Regions from separate parts of the Homo sapiens genome. Here region 2 is linked to region 1. Evidence: promoter capture Hi-C in human tissues and cell types (Jung and others, 2019). All regions are on one chromosome and are shown on one strand. Each heading gives the region's core, a stretch centred on a gene start or on the middle of the fragment in contact. The rest is flanking DNA. Distances are from core to core; before and after follow the strand shown. Region 1 holds the start of CHRNB2 (cholinergic receptor nicotinic beta 2 subunit). Region 2 overlaps IL6R (interleukin 6 receptor).

Region 1 (5,978 bases), core at 1,503-4,002:
GCTGTACCTCACTGGTCTGGGTCTGTCTGTCTAGGTAGTGACTACATATCTATTATAAGTCCCTCCCCTCCCACAGCATAAGTAATTTCTCTTATTTTCCCCAGAACCCCTTCCCTCCCTGAGCCCTCCAATGGTCTCCCCCAACCTTCCCATTGCACCTACTTGTTGTACAGGACCACATCTGGGAGCCAGATGTGTTTGGAAGGGAGCCGAACTTTCTTCATGTTGTCAAACTCTTCAGGCTTCCAGGTGAGGCGATAATCTTCCCACTCCTGGGAAATGAGAGAGGGAGGCAGTACCAACTTGTGCCCTGGGTGGGGCTCAAGGTTAAGGAAACGAACTAGAGGGGGCCCATATGGCTTGAGGGACCTTTTAAAAGCCAGCCTCTTCCCCACAGTGACTTCTCTGCCCATCAGGTATGGCTCATGTGGTACTTTCTCATTTAATTTGCACAGCTAGGCCAAGGTACAGTATTAGAATCTACATTTACAAATGAGAAAATGAATCTTGGAGAGTTTAATATGTTTAAAGTCACAAGGCTGGTGAGTGCCAAGATTCAAATCCAATTGTTTAGGACTCCAAACTCTATACCTTTCTGCCTGTTTTGAGAGATTAAGAAAGAAAAAAGCACATGGGGAAAAAGGAGGAGAGAGAAGGCCAGGGGTGTGGGTGGAAGAGAGCACTTACGCTTACCTGGGTCAGCCAGACATTGGTGGTCATGATCTGCTCCCGCTCATGCTGCAGGGAGGAAGAGAGGCTGCCGAGAAGGCCCCTAAGCCTGTGGGGTCACTGCCACCACCCAGGGTCCCTCTCACACCTCCCCAAGCCTTGGAAACACCAGGGGAGGAAGCACACAAGCATTAACACATTTTGGCGGGGCTGATTTCAGTAGCTGGGCAGAGAGCCTGGGACCTCTACTCACCACACTGATGAGCTGGGCCAGTGACACCATAAGCTGTACTGTCACCAGCTCAGAGCCATTGGTGGCTGGGCGGATAAGCTTGTTGTAGCGGGAAGGATCCAGGAGATGCTCCACCAGCCGCTCCTCTGTATCCGTACCCCACACCCCTGGGCAGGGGAAAGGCAGGACGAAAGTAAGCAGGCAAGGAGAGCCCACCCAGCATCCCACCCTCCCCAGGCAAATGGGACAATCCAGGCCCAACCAGTATCTCCCTACATCCCTAAGGATACTGCAAAATGCTTAGATTAACCCCAGGGAGGCCCCAGATTAATGTCTTCATAGAAAAGCCCCTCTCTGAGACCACTGACCAAAGAGTCTACACAGCTCCACAGAGATGACTTGAGACTAAGAACCCACTCTGCAAGGATTCATGGAGACCTGCTCTTCCCCCAAAGTCTCAGAGGGCAGTTTGAGATTTCTGCTTCCATGGCTTCCCCAGCAAATACCTATGACTCAAGGGAGGTTTAGCAGGGCAGTGAAGGTGAACAGTTATTTGTCCCAGTTATTTGTGTCCCACCACACACATCCTTTCTCCTGCCGATTGAGGAGAAAGTGTATGTGTGGTGGGACACAAATAACTGTTCCCGTTCACCATTTACATGTGCAAATGACATTATGTGCCTCACGTAATGACATGTGACTGTGGTCACGATGCCATCCTCCCCTCTCCCTAAAGGCACTGGGTTGGAGTGGAATAGCTGGGCTGCCTAAGCTGTGGGTCAGGCATATATGTAGCCCCAAGTTTCACACACACAGCAGCCCACCCCTAGAGGTGGCCTGTAGGTGTGGAAAGCTCATTCAGTTGTGCATTCCCTTTGTACCTGCCCCTCCCCGGCACACTGCATCCCCCTCTGCAACTCTGCACGAACACACCCCTCCCCATCCCCTCAGAGAGTTCCTTCCTAGTCCTCAGCCTGGCAGAGCTTCTTCCCTTCCAAGCCTCCTGTCCCACCCTACAGGAGGGTTGAAAAGTCCGTTCCGTTTTCTCCCCTTCTCTGCCCCTGAGGGGTGACGAGAATCTGGAGCCCAATGTGGGGGATGGGAAACGATGGGGAGCCCGGGGAGGGGTGCTGGTCCAGGTACCTTTCTTGAGATAATGTTTCACAAAAAGTCAGATGGCATCTTAGCGCCCTCAGAGCCGGCCTCCTGCCACCCCAGGACGCCTGGGGAGATCCCCTGCCTCCTTGCTCTCTGTGCCTGCACCACCCCTACCACCGCTGGCCAGGTTTCCATCTCTTTCTTGCTTCACTTACTCCTTCGAGTATGTCTCGTTCCCAGTCCAGCCTCCCAGGTGCTCTCTGCAGTCCCGGGGGGCTCTCCCCTAACCTCCAGCAGACTCCCCCACCTCTAGGGAATCCCTTCTTCCACCTTCCGGCCTAGCAGGGGTGAGTCAGAGGGCGGCGAGTCTTGGGCCGTTGGCTGGGGTAGGAGAACCTGGCCAGTGCCCGTCTTTCCCTTACCTGAGCACAGCCGGAGGAGGCCGAAGCCAAGGAGCAGCGCCACGGGGCCGCAGCGCCGGGCCATGCCGCGGGCATAGCTCGCTGCCTCGCCTACACCGGCTGGAGCGCGCCGCCGGGGGGAGGGCCGCGGGTGGGGCGCTGTCCGTGGTGCTGAAGCCGCGCCCGCCTGGAGCTGGGTCCAGGTGGTGCCGGCCGCCGCGGTGGTTCCTGGGCCTCAGGGAGCCGGCTGCGAGGAGAAACCAGCTTCTTGCCTATCCTGGTATGAGCAGGCGGAGGCTTTTCCGGCTGCTCTTCCAGGGAATACAATTGGGACGGTGAGGGGGAGGAGTCTGCGCCCCGGAGGCGGAAACGCTGGGTCCCAGGAAAAAAAAGGGGGGTCCCCGGCTGGGATAGTCTTCGATTGGTTCTGCCGTGGTAGGGTGTGCGTGAGGTGGAAGAAGGGCTGTTCCTCCACGGCACGGTGGAGGAGTTCTGAAGTCCTAAAGTTGGGGCAGGACCTGCAGCATGGTCGGAGAAGGGGCAAGAGGCCCGGCGGGAAGAAGCAGCAAGAGTAAGACAAGTAGGTCAGGGCCTGCTTAGTACTGAGGGCCAGACGGCCAGAACGAGCGTCGGGAGACAGGAGGAGTGTCCGGGGTTTTCGCCCTCCTTTTTTCTCTTACCAAACCCAAATGGTCCTGCTCCCCAGGTAGGCTGAGGATACAGCAGAGAAAATGTGTTTAGCCCCTTAAAGAGATAGGGGGCTGTGGGTTTGCTATTTTTAAGAAAGCAAACGGCTTTGGAGTCTAAAAGGCTAAGCTTCCTGCCCTCCCACTGAGGGTCTACCTGAGGAGGTCTAGACTTGCCTGCAAAGAAGGTAGACTTGAGGGTAATAGTGGAAAGACAAGTAGCCCCTATTCATCGGCCTTCCTCACCCCCTTCTCTTGACTCCAGCTGTTGGCTTCTGTGTGACTAGGGAGATCAGAGACCACTCACAGAGGCCTGATCAAGAGAGAAGCTAACACAAAGGAGACCAAAGATGAGAACCCTGAACTCTTAGCCCCTTTTTTTCCTTCAGTGGGTTCGTTGTCACTTTCAACCAAAAGATTCCTGACTAAAGCAGACTTAGCATACAGCAAGGCTCTGTCCTGTTTTGTCCCTGCTTACTTCAACCTCATCTGGGTCACTCCACCCCCAGCTCCACATTCCAACTATTGGCAAGGTCTTCAGGATCCTTGAACATCTTATCCGTCCCATCATCCCCCACACTTCAGGGACTTAAATGCATGGTTCTCTTGGGCTCTTTTATAACCCATGTTCCCCTCATCACCTTCTACTTAACTTTGAGCATTTGGCAGGAATGTCAATTCCTTAAGGAAGCTGCGCCTGACCAAGAACTAGATCAGATACTTTGTTATATGTTTCCAGAGCATGTCCAATGAATAAATGAATCCACCTGAGGCAGTGGCTGCCTCTCTAGATTATGAATCAACACAGTGCCTGGCATATTATTATAAGGGCTCAACAGGTAAGGAAAAGGGCTAGTACTGGACTGACACTTTTTAATGTGTAGGGAAAATTTCTCTCTAAAAGCTCAGCTAGGGACCAGGAGAGGTGACTTAAGCCCGTAATCTCAGCACTTTCAAAGGCTGAGGCAGAAGGATCACTTGAGCCCAGGCGTTTGAAACCAGCCTGGGCAACATAATGAGATCACGTGTGTACAAAAAGTTTAAAAATTAGTCGGGCATGATGGTGTGTGCCTATAGTCCCAGCTACTCGAGAGGCTGAGGTGGGAGGATCACTTAAGCCAGGGAGGTCGGGGCTGCAGTTTGGGGCATGATGGCGCAACTGCACTCCAGCCTGGGCAATGAAGCAAGACCCCATTTCAAAAACTAAACAAATAAATAAATAAAAGCCCAGCTAAAAGCAACTTATTGACCATGTCCCCAGGTCGTGGAATTAAGGGAAGAAGCAGAAAAGTTCTAGAAGAGGACTGGAGAAGTAGAAGGACTACAGACCCCATGATGCACATGGAAATGGGCGTAAATCTGCACGACTTGTTCCGGGGCATGCGCATGTGTAAGCGCACAATAATCTCTTAAGAATTAAAGAAACCTTGTAACAAAGAAAAGTAGTGAAGAAAAGCCTTAAGGAAAAGAGAAGGAATGTGTGTAGTCCCTCTGCTTAAGGAAAAGATAGAGGGTGGGAAGATCTTCCTTCAACAATTTAGATCAACATTTGTTAGGTATATGTGGTTTGCCAGGAAACTGCATGTGTGTTGTGGACCATATGTGTTGAAGATGCAGTGATCAAAAAGACTTAGTCCCAGCTATTAAGGAGATCACAGTTTGGCAGCAAATTATTATAGAATGTGATGGCTGTTCTAACAGACATATAAAGGAAGTGCTATGGATGGAAGCACAGAGGAAGAAGAGGTTAATAGTGTCTAAGAACCTAGAAGGGATGAAGATGAAAATTGAGATTTGAAAGGTGAGAAAGTCATTAAGACAAGGATGACTTAAAGGTATTCCAAACTCCTAAGAAATACAGGGAGTTTTGGTGGATGCAGAATGATTGAGGAAGGCTGTGAAAGTCTTCTCTTAACAAAAATCTCTTTCTGTAATGGTTGCTTGTTTATGGGATGAGAAACTAGGGGGTCATTTGCTTGCTTAAAGCCTCTGGCTTCTCCTGATGCAACTTCCAGGCCAGTCTACCTTCTCTTCTCAAATCCCCCAGCTTTTGCTTCAAGTTTACTTCCAGCCTGGCAAGGAGTGAGTCTTCTGAGCACAACCACCCAGTGTCCAAGCAGGGCGGGAACACCTCCTTCCTCATCTCTCCCACACATACTCCTTCCATACCCACCAAGAAGAAAGGCAGCCAGGAAGAGTGGACAGGTCCAGAACCACAGAGGGTGATGAACAGATGCAGAAGTATCAATCCTGAGGCTAAAGAGTAATTGGGCAAAGTTTTGGTGAGACACTCCCATTGCCACTGATGATAAGGAATGTTTTCTCTTGAAAGGCTTAAAATTGGTGGAAAGCGGTGGCTCACGTCCGTAATCCAAGCACTTTGGGAGGCTGGGGCAGGTGGATGGACTGAGCTCAAGAGTTCAAGATCAGCCTGGGCAACATGGTGAAACCCTGTTTCTACAAAAAATTTAAAAATATTAGCCAGGTGTGGTGGCACGTGCTCCCAGCCTGGGCAACACCTCCCAGTACTTGGGAGGCTGAGGAGGGAGGATATCGTGAGCCGTGGAGGTGGTTGCAGTGAGCCGAGACTATGTCACTGAACTCCAGCCTGGGCAACAGAGCCAGACCCTGTCTCAAAAAAAAAAAAAAAAAAAAAGGTTGGGGGGAAAGGCTTAAAATCAATGTTATTGTCCTTTATTTAAGGCGTTTTAGGCTGAGTGTGGTGGCTCGCACCTGTAATCCTGGCACTTAGGGAGGCCAAGGCAGATCACCTGAGATCAGGAATTCAAGACCAGCCTGGCCAACGTGGTGAAACCCGGTCTCTACTGAAAAATACAAAAATTAGCCTGGTGTGGTGGCGCATGCCTGTAATCCCAGCTACTCAGGAGACTG
Region 2 (5,978 bases), core at 1,851-4,350, 130 kb after region 1:
ACAAGACTGAGGCTCTGAGAGCTGAACTAACTTTACCAGTGTCATACAACCTGACTCCCAGGTGCTTCCCAGGACCTCTGTGTCTCCCAAAGGCCACCACTCCCACACCTAGTCTGGGAGGCAGGTGCATCCTGTCTGTCTGGGCCTTGAGAGCTGAAGGTCCTTGGGGTGGGTAAGCTCACCCCACACGGTGATACAGTGTTTAGTACACTGATGCGTCCCTAACAGCCAAATAACCGTGGTCCATAACACACACCTCACCTAGTGCTCTAACCTTCCCCTTATTTTTCAGAACTGCCCGCCAATTTCCAACCTGAATCCCCCTCTTGCGTCAAAATCATCCAAGTTCCTCTTGCTCTTCCCTCAGCAGAGAGGGGAGCAGCAGGTTTCTTTCTTGGATATATTCACAACTGGGTTTTGAAGACTTCCCCTGCCTCAAACCACACATGCATAGGGTGGAGGGCTCAAAGTCTTCCGCTCCTTACATGAGAAGAAACCGACTGTTCTATCTGAGCTCCCACAGAAGCTGTGTCTATGCCAAAGAAGCACATCCACCTGAGGCTGGAAAGTGGAGACCGTACCCAGTGCTGGCCAGACAGCCCCCACCACACCATCTTCCAATAGAAGGAGAGTGTCAGCAACTTAAAGAGGGACATCCACAAATGAGACCAGATTCAGGGGAAGGGGGCCAGAAAGGTGAAGAATTCACAGACCATCTCATGTAACAGCCTGGGAAGAGGAGCCCAAGCAGATGCAGGTCTGGGAACTCCAAAAGAATTCAGAGAGAGCAGACTAGGAAATTTGTCATTGGTTATCCCTGAGAACAGAGCAAGGGCCAGTGAGGCCAGAGTTAGGTTCACATAAGAAAGAACTTTCTATTTGAATAGATATTTCTCCAAAGATATATGAATGGCCAAGAAGCACATGAAAAGATCCTCAGCCTGGGTGTGGTGGCTCACGCCTGTAATCCCAGTACTTTGGGAGGCATAGATGGGCAGATCACTTGAGGTCAGGAGTTCAAGAGCAGCCTCGCCAACATGGCAAAGCCCCGTCTCTGCTAAAAATACAAAAATTAGCTGGGTGTGGTGGTGCATGCCAATCTCAACTACTCGGGAGGCTGAGGCACGAGAATCACTTGAACCCCAGGAGGTGGAGGTTACAGTGAGCCAAGATCGCCCCACTGCACTCCAGACTGGGTGACAGGGTGAGACTCTGTCTCAAAAAAAAAAAAAAAAAGACATTAATCATTAGGGAAATGCAAATCAAAACCACAGTGAGATAACACTTCACATCCATAAGGAGGACTATTGCAGCAAAATGAAAAATAACAAATGTTGGCAAGGATGTGGAGAAACTGGAACCCTTATACACTCTGGTGTAAGTGTAAAATGGTGCAGCCACTGTGGAAAACGGCATGGCATTTCCATGAAAATTTAAAAATAGAATTACCATATAATGCCACAATTATAATTCTGAGTATATACACAAAAGAACTGAAAGCAGGAATCTAAACAGATATTTTACACCCGTGTTCATAGCAGCATTATGCACAACCAAAATGGGGAAGCAAACCCAGTGTCCCCTGACAAATGAATGAATCAACACAATGTGGTATCTCTACACAATGGAATATTATTCAGCCTTAAAAAGGGAGGAAAGTCTGACACATGTTATACCACATGAATAAACCTTGAGGACATTATGCTAAGTGAAATAAGTCAGTCACCAAAGGACAAATACTCTCTGATTCCACTTATTTGAAGTACCTAGAGTGCAGCCTGGGCAACATGGTGAAACCTTGTCTCTACAAAAAATACAAAAATTAGCCAGGCATGGTGGCAGGCGCCTGTAATCTCAGCTACTCAGGAGGCTAAGGCTGGAGAATTGCTTGAACCCGGGAGGCAGAGGTTGCAGTGAGCCAAGGTCACGACAGTGCACTCCAGCCTGGGTGGGTGACAGAGTGAGACTCCGTCTCAAAAAAAAAGAGAAAAAGAGAGAGACAGAAAGAGACAAAGGAAGGCAGGCAGGCAGGTAGGCAGGCATGCAAGCAAGCAAGCAAGCAAATGAAGTACTAGAGTAGTCAAACTCACAGAAAAAGCAAGTAGACTGGTGGTTGCCACGAGCTGGGGGAAGGAGTGGGTGAAAGGAAAGTTACTGTTTAACAGATTCTGAGTTTCAGTTTTACAAGATGAAAAAAGTCCTGGAGAAGTAAAGTGGTGATGGTTGCACAACAATACTTAATGCCACAGAGCTGTGCACTTAAAAATAATATAAATGGGCAGGGCGCGGTGGCTCACGCCTGTAATCCCAGCACTTTGGGAGGCTGAGGTGGGTGAATCACCTGAGGTCAGGGGTTCAAGACCAGCCTGACCAATATGGTGAAACCCCATCTCCACTAAAAATATAAAAATTAGCCAGTCATGGTGGCAGGTGCCTGTAGTCCCAGCTACTCGGGAGGCTGAGATAGGAGAATTGCTTGAACCCGGGAGGCAGAGGTTGCATTGAGCTGAGATCACGCCACTGCACTCTAGCCTGGGCGACAGAGCGAGACTCCGTCTCAAAAAATAATAATAATAATATAAATGGTAAATCTTATGTACATTTTACAATTTGAAAATTTTTAGAAGAAACTTTATAAAAAAGCAAGATTGCTTTTAAGCTGCTTGTCACAAGCTTTAAGCTGCTTGTGACTATCTGAACTAAGTGGTTGGAATAAAAGGTAAAATAGGGATCAGCCTATATTTGGAATTCCTATTCCTCTGCACGATGTTAGAGCTGATTTTTCCCCCCTTAAAAAGGCCCCCAAAGCCATACTGATGCTCAGCATTCAGATAAATGAGTGTGTTTGGCTCAAAGTATACACAAATCAAAGAAAACCATGGACAGGTCAATACGATCTACCCTGAAGGATGCACTGATTTATTAAAATGGTCTCCCTAAGTAAGATATAGTAGTTAGGCCCCACTCCTTGTCCAGGTCTGAGCAGGAAAAAAGCTTTTGAGGAGAGGGCCCAATAGAAAGCTGCCTCCTGTCCTTGATGAACAAGGAAAGTGCCAACAAAGATGGAAGCCGGCACTTCATATTATTGCATCCAACTAGGATTACACCCTAAGCCCCAGCATACTCCTCTGGCTCTCCCCAGGACAGGAAAGACAAGGGACAAGGACCCCACAGTACAAAGCCAGCCAGGAGGAAGAGCCATCACCCCACACCATCCAATCTGGGGGAAGAATGTGCAGCCCATAGATAAAAGCCTTCTCTCCCTGGGGCCAGGGCTGGGAGAAAGTGGCAGGGGTCGGGATGGGACTGATGTCAATTCTACCTTTTCCTTTTTATCCATACTTACTCAAATAAATGGGTATCTTATTCTTTTTTTTTTCCTAACTGCCAAGTATTTAAGAATGATTAATTTGGTTCAACTACGCCACAGGGCTAGAAACATTTGACCCCAAAGTGAGCCATGAAGCCATTCTACAACAAAAACACTGGGAACAATAAAACAGATTGCTGCAAGGGGTAGTAAGCTCTCTGTCTCTGGAAGCATTTAAGCAGAGGCTGGCTGACCACTCTCTGGGTTGTGGTCAGGGAGATTCTTGCATTCTAGATCTGCTAAATCCTAACCTTTCATAGCAGGGTGTTGATAGATAATGTCTCAAGTGGTTTTATCAGGGAAAAAAAAAAGCCATATAAGCTTGTTGTTTAGAGTTAAGGAGGGCACCAACAGAGGAACTAGAAACAGAAAGAGTCAAGCAGCTTCCTTAGAAAGCAGGACTAGAAATGGAAGGCATGGGACAAGGGACCACTGCTCAGTGTTATAAGCTGTTTATTACTTCTTTGCCATGTGCATGTATTAATTTGATTAAAATTTTAAAAGTTTAGGCCAGGCGCGGTGGCTCACACCTGTAATCCCAGCATTTTGGGAGGGCGAGGCGGGTGGATCACGAGGTCAGGAGTTCAAGACCAGCCTGGCCAACACAGTGAAACCCCGTCTCTACTAAAAAAAAAAAAAAATTAGCCGGGCGTGGTGGTGTGCACCTGTAGTCCCAGCTACTCAGGAGGCTGAGGCAGGAGAATAGCGTGAACCCAAGAGGCAGAGCTTGCAGTGAGCCAATATCATGCCACTGCACTCCAGCCTGGGCAACAGAGCGAGATTCCGTCTAAAAAAAAAAATTTAAAGTTTAGTCAGGTGCAGTGGCTCACACCAGTAATCCCAGCACTTTGGGAGTCTGAGGCTGGTGGATCACTTGAGGCCAGGAGTTCGAGACCAGCCTGGGCAGCATGGTGAAACCCTGTCTCTACAAAACATTTTTAAAAAATTAGCATTGTGGCACACGCCTGTGGTCCCAGCTACTTAGGAGGCTGAGGCGGGAGGATTGCTTGAACCCAGGAGGCAGAAGTTGCCGTGAGCTGTGATTGCACTGCTGTACTCCATCCTGGGCAACGAGGAGAAAGCCTGTCTTCAAAAAAAAAAAAATTTAAGTTAAAAAAAATTTCCGACCGGGCACAGTGACTCATGCCTATAATCCCAGCACTTTGGGAGGCTGAGGCGGGTGGATCACAAGGTCAGGAGATTGAGACCATCCTGGCTAACACGGTGAAACCCCGTCTCTACTAAAAAATAGAAAAAATTAGCTGGGCGTGGTGGCAGGTGCCTGTAGTCCCGGCTGCTCGGCAGGCTGAGGCAGGAGAATGGCATGAACCTGGAAAGCGGAGCTTGCAGTGAGCCAAGATCATGCCACTGCACTCCAGCCTGGGTGACAGAGTGAGACTCCGTCTCAAAACAAACAAACAAAACAACAACAACAACAACAAATTTCCATGGAGTTTTAAAATATATGTATTAATCAGGCAGTTACTAAATAATAAGTTTCCAAAAGTAATTGACAACATGGGGAATATTACATTTATATATATAAATACACACACACATACATGTACCTAGAAAAAGGAAAGCAGCATACTAACATGTTCTCACTGGTTTTCTCTAGGGAGTAAAAGTACTGGTGATAATTATTCTTCATATCTTTCTGGAATTTTTCATGCTCTAATTTCAACAATCCCCAATGGCAATTATTACTACCTTTAACATTTGAAAAAAATAAAAAGCCCTAGATTAAATACGGCTAACTTCTCTGCAGTGCATCCCTCCAGCTGTGGTGGGATCCCCACCCGCCTGCCCTGAGTCTGGGCTGGCAGCTGAGGATGAGAAGCCACAGGGAGAACCCAGGGCCTCGGCCACCAGCCAGCACCATCGTCAGACATGTGACTGAGGCCATCTCAGACCATCCCAATCTGATGGCAGCTGCATTCCTGATTCAGGCAAGACCAGCAGAAGAGCTGCCTAACTGACTGTATTTTTGAAATTTCAAGCCGATAAATGATGGTCGTTTTTAAGCCACTAGTTGTTTGTTTTGAGACGGAGTTTCGTTCTTATCACCCAGGCTGGAGTGCAGTGGCGCGATTTCGGCTCACTGCAACCTCCGCCTCCTGGGTTCAAGAGATTCTCCTGCCTCAGCCTCCTGAGTAGCTGGAATTACAGGCACCTGCCACCATGTCCAGCTAATTTTTTGTATTTTTCGTAGAGACAGGGTTTCACCATGTTGGCCAGGCTGACCTCAGGCAATCCACCCGCCTCAGCCTCCCAAAGTGCTGGGATTACAGGTGTGAGCCACCACACCTGGCCTAAGCCACTAGTTTTGAGGCAACTTGTCACATAGCAATGGATACCTGATGCAATGACAGTTGAAACATCCCTTCCTTTCTCAGTGCCCACCGCAGTACCTGTCCAAGGCGTGCCCATGGCCTCCGGGCTCCACTCGCTCCACTCGCCTTGCCCGAACTCCTCCTGGGCACGAAGCTGCACCACGTGCCTCAGGCCGCTCCAGGCGTCGTGGATGACACAGTGATGCTGGAGGTCCTTGACCTGAGGGCGGGGGCACGGTGACTCTGGGGAGGTATCCAGGATGGTGCTGGGCAGG

Evidence for each region. The method cuts DNA at HindIII sites, captures the fragments that hold promoters and counts their contacts. A contact is called where the count stands out against the background at its distance.
Region 2: a fragment that was not itself captured here is called in contact with the fragment with the promoter of CHRNB2 in region 1 in 1 of the 25 tissues and cell types used here (bladder).

The regions. Positions count from the first base shown.
Region 1 is chr1:154,564,552-154,570,529 of GRCh38, reverse strand. CHRNB2 (cholinergic receptor nicotinic beta 2 subunit) reads right to left here and starts at 2,752. Exons shown (of 6, transcript NM_000748.3): 1 at 2,422-2,752; 2 at 923-1,068; 3 at 694-738; 4 at 163-272. The coding sequence starts at 2,485. It overlaps LOC107985206 (a long non-coding RNA gene), which reads left to right and starts at 2,813. Exons shown (of 2, transcript XR_001738238.3): 1 at 2,813-3,106; 2 at 4,348-5,742. RefSeq lists a silencer at 2,452-2,581. The HindIII fragment of the contact is 6,337 bases long and covers 2,109-5,978 here.
Region 2 is chr1:154,435,914-154,441,891 of GRCh38, reverse strand. It overlaps IL6R (interleukin 6 receptor), which reads right to left. Exons shown (of 10, transcript NM_000565.4): 6 at 5,782-5,923. Among named protein-coding and RNA genes, the nearest start is that of IL6R-AS1, 32 kb to the right of the region's middle. The HindIII fragment of the contact is 3,775 bases long and covers 1,213-4,987 here.